Linked DNA regions of Homo sapiens: regions 1 and 3 are each linked to region 2. The links are contacts of gene promoters, found by promoter capture Hi-C in blood cells and fetal thymus (Javierre and others, 2016). All regions are on one chromosome and are shown on one strand. The core of a region is centred on a gene start or on the middle of the fragment in contact, and the rest is flanking DNA. Distances in the headings are between cores, read along the strand shown. Region 1 overlaps LEF1 (lymphoid enhancer binding factor 1). Region 2 holds the start of OSTC (oligosaccharyltransferase complex non-catalytic subunit). Region 3 overlaps LEF1 (lymphoid enhancer binding factor 1).

The links. The method cuts DNA at HindIII sites, captures the fragments that hold promoters and counts their contacts. A CHiCAGO score of 5 or more calls a contact.
Region 1: a contact is called between a fragment that was not itself captured here and the fragment with the promoter of OSTC in region 2, in 1 of 17 cell types (fetal thymus). The highest score is 6.0, in fetal thymus.
Region 3: a fragment that was not itself captured here is called in contact with the fragment with the promoter of OSTC in region 2 in 1 of 17 cell types (fetal thymus); the score reaches 5.2 in fetal thymus.

The regions. Positions count from the first base shown.
Region 1 is chr4:108,073,431-108,076,360 of GRCh38, reverse strand. All of the region lies in intron 8 of LEF1 (lymphoid enhancer binding factor 1), which reads left to right. Among named protein-coding and RNA genes, the nearest start is that of HADH, 85 kb to the right of the region's middle. The HindIII fragment of the contact is 8,586 bases long and covers 1-2,930 here.
Region 2 is chr4:108,649,174-108,652,082 of GRCh38, reverse strand. It overlaps OSTC (oligosaccharyltransferase complex non-catalytic subunit), which reads right to left and starts at 1,484. Exons shown (of 4, transcript NM_021227.4): 1 at 1,289-1,484. The coding sequence starts at 1,427. RefSeq lists enhancers at 531-580, 1,195-1,544. The HindIII fragment of the contact is 4,127 bases long and covers 1-2,909 here.
Region 3 is chr4:108,111,678-108,114,707 of GRCh38, reverse strand. All of the region lies in intron 3 of LEF1 (lymphoid enhancer binding factor 1), which reads left to right. Among named protein-coding and RNA genes, the nearest start is that of LEF1-AS1, 54 kb to the left of the region's middle. The HindIII fragment of the contact is 2,133 bases long and covers 392-2,524 here.

The DNA of each region.
Region 1 (2,930 bases), core at 322-2,821, 580 kb after region 2:
AATTTACAGATCTATAAATCATTGTTAGGGCCTCTATTAGCCAAAATAGGTACAGCCCCTTTCTGGAGCTTCAAGTTTTATGACAGAATACAGACATTAGACAAATAAATAGCCAATAAATATGTAATAAAAATTATGATAAATACTGTGAATGTAGGGAATAAGATTCAGTGAGAAAGAACAGTAGGGGCTTGGGCAGGCCCCTCTGAGGAAACTGTATTTAAGCTGAGATGTGAGAGTAAGTAGAGACGAATGGGGAGAGGTAGACTCCCCCACATGCAGATGGAGTAGCATGTGTGTGCCGCCTCTGAAACAGGAAAGCGTTTAGCTCTTTAGGGAGCTACAGCAAGGCCTTTGGGGGACCGTCCTGGCAAACAGAGGTGGCCACTCCTTCCAGGACAGAAGCAGAGCTGTTCTACCATGAGGCTTTACATGGAAGAATGTATATGATCCTGAGGAGTCTTGATTCTAGAAAGACTGTTCTCCAAATCTCCAAGTGTACACCTGCCAGGTTTCTGGGTTGCCCTTTTCTTTTCATTCATTCTTTCACCAATGCTATGATATTTTTCTGAGCCCCTGTTATGTACCAGGCAGCAGGCTACAACTAGGATAGACACTCTAAGATTGTTTATCCAACTGTCAGCCAAAAGACATACATAGTCAGTCCTTCCAAGTACTTTGTATGGGATTGAAGTGATTTCAGTTAGATGGCTGAAGAGTGGTAAGAAAAGTTTGAGTTTCTCTAATTTAAATTACATTTTCACCATAGTCACGTTATCATTATAATTTTAGAAATGTTTCATCTTAATTTGTTGATGCTCTTCATATCTGTGTGGTAGCCTCTTAATTTGTGACCCTGTGTTTGTTTTTGCAACCTCTCAAGAAATTCATGATTGGCAAATGAACATTCAGTTGAGGAGGATCTAACAACCCTTGTGAAACATAGAGGATCATGTGTTAGCTATTGTCGATGATAATTTTACCAGGTCTGTTCTGAACCTAATAAATTTGAGCATTTATAACAGAAAACATTTAGGAGATTTCCAGTCCATGTGAACAGGAGGGAAGCAGGCCCTCTTACATTATCGATTCCCATTGGATAGCCTCAAAATGCAGCTATTTCCAATCTGCAAGTCACCAGGGTTTCCAGGGGAGGATGTGGTGATAGATTATAGCTTTTTTGGTGTCCTGTGTACAATGCCCTATCTCCCTGTGGATTCTTAGACACTTAATAACAATAATTACAATGCTTTCCCAAGCCAGATCATGGCAGATGAGTGATTCCCATCATCTTGGAAGAACTCCGCCTTAAAAACTGATGATCATTTTCCCTGACTCTTTAAAAGAAGAAATCAGAGGAAAAGAAGGGCTGATGTTTTTATTTCAGCTTGTATGCAACTCTTAGTTTTTTCTTTTTTCTTTTTTGAGTTAAGGGCCCCCTGGCCCTCCAGTGGGAATTACTTTCCTGCTGAATACAGAGAGTGAGGATATGATATGAAGGTATGCTTCCTATTCTTAATGCACATTTCCAACAATTGCTACTTTCTCAGCTCCCTTAACAATCCCCAGATCCGAGCATGTGTCCTAAAGGATGGTTCTTATTTGGGGTCTCTGTCTGTCTCTGATTTAGACACCTGTTTCTATTTATAGGTCTCTGAGATCTTTGATTAAGATCAGGTTTTCTATCCTTTCATAACTCCCCTCTGGCAGGGCAGCCCTTGCTAGCTCTTTAAAGTCTCTGGCATCAAAATCATGACGTTTTACACTGGGATAATTTGAGTTCTTAAAAGTGGATCTTAAATCCATCCCAGAACATTTTATCTTTTGATTTTTATTCATCTTTACTATATCTCTAAAATAGTGTTCATATGAATTAATCAAAGTTTTATTTTTAATCCATATTATAAATAATAATATCACAAATTTTATTTTAAAATAAGCCTTTTCTCTTCAGACCTTCCTGGCTATTAAAGGAAATCCATTTATCACAAATTTGTCATGAGAATGTTTTATCTTGGAACTGTACAAGTTTATTCAAATTAAATGGATATTTTCCCCACAACTTGGTGAAATCTTGACAATGAGATTTGATTTTTAAAAAGTTTGACTCTTTATTTTGCAGTAAATAGAGATAGAGAAGCATTTTTAGTCAATTGTGTTTCAGAAATTCCTGTAAAGAAAGACCATCTTTCAGGTCTGTACTAGACTTTGTTTTTGTTTTCAATGCAAAACTTTAATTACATCATTTTATCTACTGTTCATTTTGGTAAGTGATCTTCTATTTGTGAGTCATTTTTGTACATTAGAAATATCAGAGAACTTCCTGGCTAACACGGTGAAACCCCATATCTACTAAAAATACAAAAAAGTAGCCGGGCGTGGTGGGACGCACCTGTCGTCCCAGCTACTAGGGAGGCTGAGGCAGGAGAATCACTTGAACCTGGGAGGCGGAGCTTGCAGTGAGCCGAGATCGCGCCACTGCACTCCAGCCTGGGCAACAGAGCGAGACTCTGTCTCAAAAAAAAAAGGGGGGGGGGTTATCAGAGGACTTAAAGCAATGGAACATGTAAATAAATAGTTTAGTTTATGCCTACTTTGCCTCCTTGCCTTTTATTCAGTTTCGTTAGCTTGGGTCTTTTTGTCAACCTGTTTCTTGTTTTAACTGAAAAATACCTCGTTGTTTGGGTAGAAGACCCAAACTTGATACCTATTTTGGGAGTTAATTTGTATTTATGATTCCAGGTTTTCTCAGCTACTGTAAGTTACGTAAAACTATACTGATACAGTAATAAAAGGTGTTGTATATAGGGGAATGATAGTTGTCAAATAGTAAATTTAAAATGGAAGACTTCCTGTCTTCTTTTATTTTTTTTGTCCCTAATTTTTTTCCTTATTGGTAAAACTTTGCCTCTTGCCAATCATCCTTATTT
Region 2 (2,909 bases), core at 235-2,734:
GCATTTTAAATTTTGTTTATTCAGTACAGTAGCTATTAACTTGATGAGCAAATGTTAATGGTTAATGCTAATGCAATGCTAGATAGTATCTTGTTACCAAATAAGTATTTAAATGTAACTCAAATATTTAAATGTAATTTATTTAAATGAACGTAAGTTAATTCTCACTATTCTAGATTGGGGGAAGGAGGTAAATTCAAAGGTGCTTTCTAGAACTCAGCTCTCTCAGTTTGAATCCTCCCCCTTCAGTGCCAACTATTCTCACAAAACATCTATGAAAATAACAATTATATGGCCACTCCCTTAAAAGTAGAACTACTTTTGCTATCCCAAATCCGTAGCTTTAATTTTATAATTTCCAGGTTAAGTACACCACTTCCCAAAATCTAAATTAATTTTATAATTTCCAAGTTAAGTACACCACTTCCCCAAATCTAAATGTACACAGTAGCACAGTTCTAAGTAAATCTTGGAACTGTGGCCTGAAAGGGTAGTGGCTCTGAAAAGACTAGCCGGATTGCCAACTCACCAGTACATAAGGCAACGCCCCTTTGCAATTTTCTATTTGAAAAGGACAGAATAAGATGATAGACAATTCAGAAGCGTTTAATAGTAATGCTATTTATCTTATTTTTTTAATTCTCAACTTCTGCCCACTGAAATACAGTATCGTCTGCAAATCTCATCTCCAATCTCAAATATTTATCAAACCTGTGATTTCAGAAAATTCCATTGATATTTATTGTAGGTCATGCAAAAGGCAACACAGAACCCTAGGTTTGAGCCAACAAAACTAAAGATTGTCAAGTCTCTTCCAAGATTCCAGGACAAAGATAAGTTTAAAAGTCCCACAAGCTCTTGACCAACCATGGAAGCGGAGTTGGCCAAATTAGACCTTCCCAGGACCTTTATCAAACAACCAACCATGGAAACGGAGTTTGCCAAATTAGGCTTTCCCAGGACATTTATCAAACAACGTATGGCAAGCAACAAAAAGAGCAACAATTTGGCCTTGAAAAATATATTTGACTCGGATCCCTGGGATGGGAGGGCTAGAAGGAGAAGAAAGGCAATGGGAGTGAGAACACGAATTCTCTTAAGACAGGGCGTGAAGGCGAATAAACTTGGACGTTAACACTTCGGACCCCAGAACTCCCCTCCACCCTCAGAAAAGATCCAAAGCAGAGCTATGCTTCCCCCGGGGCTGAGAGTCAGCGGAACAGACGCGCCTCCCGGGGCGGGTCAGTTCTCCGCTCCTCAGCCTCTCGGGCCCGACAGCCCGAGTTACCTCCGGTGATGAGGAAGTAAGACACCACCACCAGAGCATACACAGTCATGGCCGACGGCATGTGCAACCAGGGCGGCTTCTTCAGCTTCAGGTTGGGACATTCGAGCACTAAGAACGGGACACGGTACAAAGTCTCCATGTTGGTGGCAGCAAGGGCCGTTCTCGGCCTCAAGCCCCACGCGCCTCCCGGAAACAGGCCCGCCCTCCCTAACAAGTGCGCGTGCGCGAGGAAAGGACCCGCAGATCCGTAAAGCTCGGAGGTGGTTACTATACTCATAGAAGAAAATAAGAAACTAAATAAAACAAATAAATGATATGAATAAAGTGTTGTAAATTATTTAATCTAATTAAACTTACATTGTGATAATGTACTCTACATTTTTCTAATGGATATATAGGTGATTTGTGTACCTTCAAGGACCTGCGGGACTTCTAACGTGGCCAAGCCGGAGAAGCGGAGGCCAAGGAATCTAGGTGAGCCCCGCCCACTCGCTGACGCAGGGGATTTGAAAGCTGATTGGACAGGGGGCGCTCCCGGTTCCCAGAGCGGGAGATGAATGGGAACTTTTGGATATAAATGCCTTTTATATTAGAGGTTTTTTCAAGGGTTAGGAAAAGCCGGAGGCTGCTGAGCTTTTACTTCCCGATGTAGTCGTGGTAATAATAAGAATTAATAATAGTTGCTAAAGTAATATGTTACCAATTTTTTTTAAACATCCAGCCTGGATCACAAATGTCAACAGGACATCTCTACAGGGATGCCTTAATGCTGATAGCTTGGCGTGACCATAATACTATTTTGAATAACTCATCCTCTCAACTTTGCTCTTCCCTTGGTCATCTGTATGTCGCTAAAAGGTAAAATCCCTCTGGCCAAAAATCTTAAAGTCGTCTGGATTTCTCTCCTTACTAACCTTCTGCATCCAAAATATTAGTAGGTCTCTTTGGCTGTACTACCAAAATATCTCCAATTCATCTGCCCCTCACCATTCCACCACTGACACCCTAGTGTGAACCACCGCCATCTCTGGTCTGGGCAACATTTACAATCCAAATAGATGAAAATATATGATGGAGAATTAGTCATTAGGGATGGACTAGAAGGTCTAAAAGATTTTTTGTTTTCTGTTTTGCTTTTCTTTTTTATATAATCTTTTAAGACTCTACAAATGTTAACTTCCTTTTGGAGCAAGAGTTAAGAGTCACTGATTACATAAGTCCAGAGCATATTGACACATTATAGAGCCAATGTTTTTATATTTTTTTATTTGCTTGTTACTAAGCCCGTGGTTATTTTTACAGGATGCCATGTATTGGTTCTGCACTTCTAATTAGCTAACAACTCAATTGTTAAGAAATTGCTTGAAGACGGTAATGAAAATACTATCAAAACATTGTAGTATCCAATTCTAAGTACAGTTGAGGCTTGCTGCCCTTACTGTTCATTAGTGAGAGTCTCTCCCAGAGTCATATTGCCTATGTCTTAACGGAGCCACACGAATCTTAGGTTATGTAAAGGCCAATGATAACACCAATAATGAATGCATTTACACCAAAACCAGCGTTTATATGTAGGAAGTTTCTCTGGGCACTGTAAAGCAGAATGTTTCTGAAATTCCCA
Region 3 (3,030 bases), core at 209-2,708, 540 kb after region 2:
TTCCTTGCTCTTTGGCTGCTGCTCACAGTATTTTCGTGTTATCTCCTCAGACATTAAGTCCCATATCTTTAGCTCGCAGAGTTTGTCTGCTCATATGCACCACACTTAAACGTCCACATCTAGAAAACACTCTTGTTTTCACATCACTTGGGGCTGTTTCCCCAAACTGCTTACCTTTTCACCATGGCTTTGCTGTTTTCCTCATTTTGACCTTTTCTTGTTAACATAAGATGCTTGTGTGTTGTTTCTGCAATAACCACTTTCTGGAAGGGCCTAGTTGACATTTCTTATCCTGCTGTTTTGACTGTGATGATGATGATCATTATCATCATATATATGATTCTTTGCATACAAAGTGCTTTTACAAACCCTTTATCGTTTAGGCCAAGCTTGGTCCTCCTCCCTGGCTTCTTGTTACAGATTCCTTTACTTGACTCTGATAATACTTTTTAAATTAGTTTGCTTACCAAGTGGGTTAACAATAAAGAAGAGAGAAAATCTCTGAAGGACACTTTTCCTTTATGTTTGTTTGCCTAAATGCTAAATAACTGGCCTATTACAGTCACAGAGTATGACTGTAACTACTGACTTAAATATGCTGATTTTCTGCAATGAAAAGAATAGCTTTTGATAAATGTTAATAAATAGCTCAAAATTTTTGAGTAATCATAACTTCTTGAATTTTCTATAACATACTTGCCTTAAAAAAAACTCCAGATTGCTTTAAACTTATGTGTTTATTTTTTATTCTTTGTCTTCATATAGTGGTTTTTTAAATGAGTTTAGGGTCTAGAACTAAATCTTTTACAGCTGAAAGCAGAACAAAGCAACTTTCAATTGGATCCGTCTTTTCTTTTATTCAAAATGATTATTCTAAGCACTTGTGACAGTGGGTAGCTGAGTAGTAGAAATAGCCACATAGTGCTTCATCCTCCTTGCCTCTCTTACTTTTCTCTCGACATGCATACCTGCAATTTATCCATGGTCCCACCCTCCCAACACATTACTGCTGTTTTGCATTTGCCCATCCTCCCATTTGAAGGAGTGCCAGGGAGGTCCTGTTGAATTCTTCGAAGAGCAGATTTGTAGTTGTTGTATGTTTTGGTATTTTGACAGCACTAGATGCAGACTTGGGTTTAGGGTGCTGTGATCTGCGGCAAAAACAGGATGTTTTAGGTGAGCCTGACTGTACAGGCAGTGGGCTTGTGGCAGGGTGGGTACTCCCTAACTTTGGTCCCCGTTTCCCTCCCACCCCCACAACAATTTCTTTGTGTGTGGGTTTGTTTCAGGACTTGTCAAAAGACAGTCGTTCAGTAGGTGTTCCCTTCTCCCCTGTAACACAGCTGCGGAGATCTGCACTTCCCCCACCCAAACTCAGCTGGCTCTCCTCCCTGACACATGCCCCTGGCAGCAACTAGTGCTCTGGAGCTCTTCTACCTTTTTTCTGCCGTTCTCAAAATGCTATCTGGTTCCATGTAGCTTTCTTTCTGATTTCCAGATTGAAAAATCTGAATAGATTTACTGGCAAAATGTATTTCTTCCTCTTTAGTGAACTGTATGGCACTAAACAAAGAGAATGGTTTCCATCATTGTATTAATTAAAAAACACACCCTGTCTGTTTCACTATAAGAACATCTCACCTCGGATAGCATTCCACAGCTCAGAGATGTGGCAGCATCAGGCTTCCATTCCTGGGCTTCTGCCATTCTAATGTTGTTTTTCCTCCAACAGGGTGGTTTCTGACAGTGCTTTGATGACATTGTCTAATGGTGTACTTAATGGGTAGCTGGGGGATGTCTTAGAGACAGATAATATTTTACTTTGTAGAGTTAGACTCTGGTTTGACTCTGCCTTTTCTGAGAAGGCTGTTTCTCTACAAGGGTATAGGATTAAAATCAGGAGCATATACTAATTATGTGAAACTATTTGTACTAATCCCACTTGCAGGTAATGACATTTGTTTACTGTGCAGCTGATGCTGATTTATCTTTACATTTTATCTAGTTAACAAACATACTTATATATCATTACGAGCCAGAAATCATTCTAAGAACTTAACTAATAGCAGCTCACTTAATCCTTAACAACCCTATGAAATAGGTACTGTCATCATGATCCTTATTTTCCAATGAGGAAAAATCAAGGCACAGAAAGAATAAGTAACATGCCCAAGGTTGTACAATAAGTGTCAGAGTTGAGATTCAGCCCCTGGCAGTCTGGCTTCAGGCGTCATCCTCTTACTGCCTCATGGCTGTGTGCCCATGGGTGGGTGGGACTGGCCATCACACAGTCCTGAATGGCATTGCAAGGGACATTTTTCTCATTGCCTGGAGAAACCAGGATCAGAACACTCTACCCCAGGCATGGGGCATGCAGCGAAAAACTGACTCTCAAGCCTAGGAGCTATTTGTATTGGCTTTGGTCCTTGGACCTCTGCTTACAGAAGCAGAGACCTCACAGCCTTCATCTGACCACACGAAAACCATCATAAGCTCATAGGACAGGGTTCCAGAGATGGAAGCTTCTAATGCCCCAGCAGCCACACAGTGTGTATCAATGCCTGACCTCCCAACATCCTAGCACCATTGAACTCCCAACAGGTCATTACCACTGTTTTTTGCCTGTTTCCAACAGCCGAGCTCTTTGCATACTCAGATCACTAGCTGCTGAGCCTTGTAGGGGAATTAGGGCAGGGTCGATTTCACAGATGAGAAGATACAGTGTCAATAGTCCACCATAAGACTAGGACCTAAATCCTGCTGCCACTTTTTTTGTATGTCAGTACTTTTACTTTTTAACCTGAGACAGGTTCTCAGTCTGTCACCCAGGCTAGAGTACAGTGGCGCAATCACAGCTCACTGGAGCTCCCAAGCTTAGGTGATCGCCCACCTCAACCTTCTGAGTAGCTGGACTGGAAGGGTGCACCACCATGCCCTGCTAATTTTTTTGTATTTTTTTGTAGAGACAGAGTTTCGCCATGTTGCCCAGGCTGGTTTCGAACTCCTGAGCTCAAGCAATTCACCTGCCTT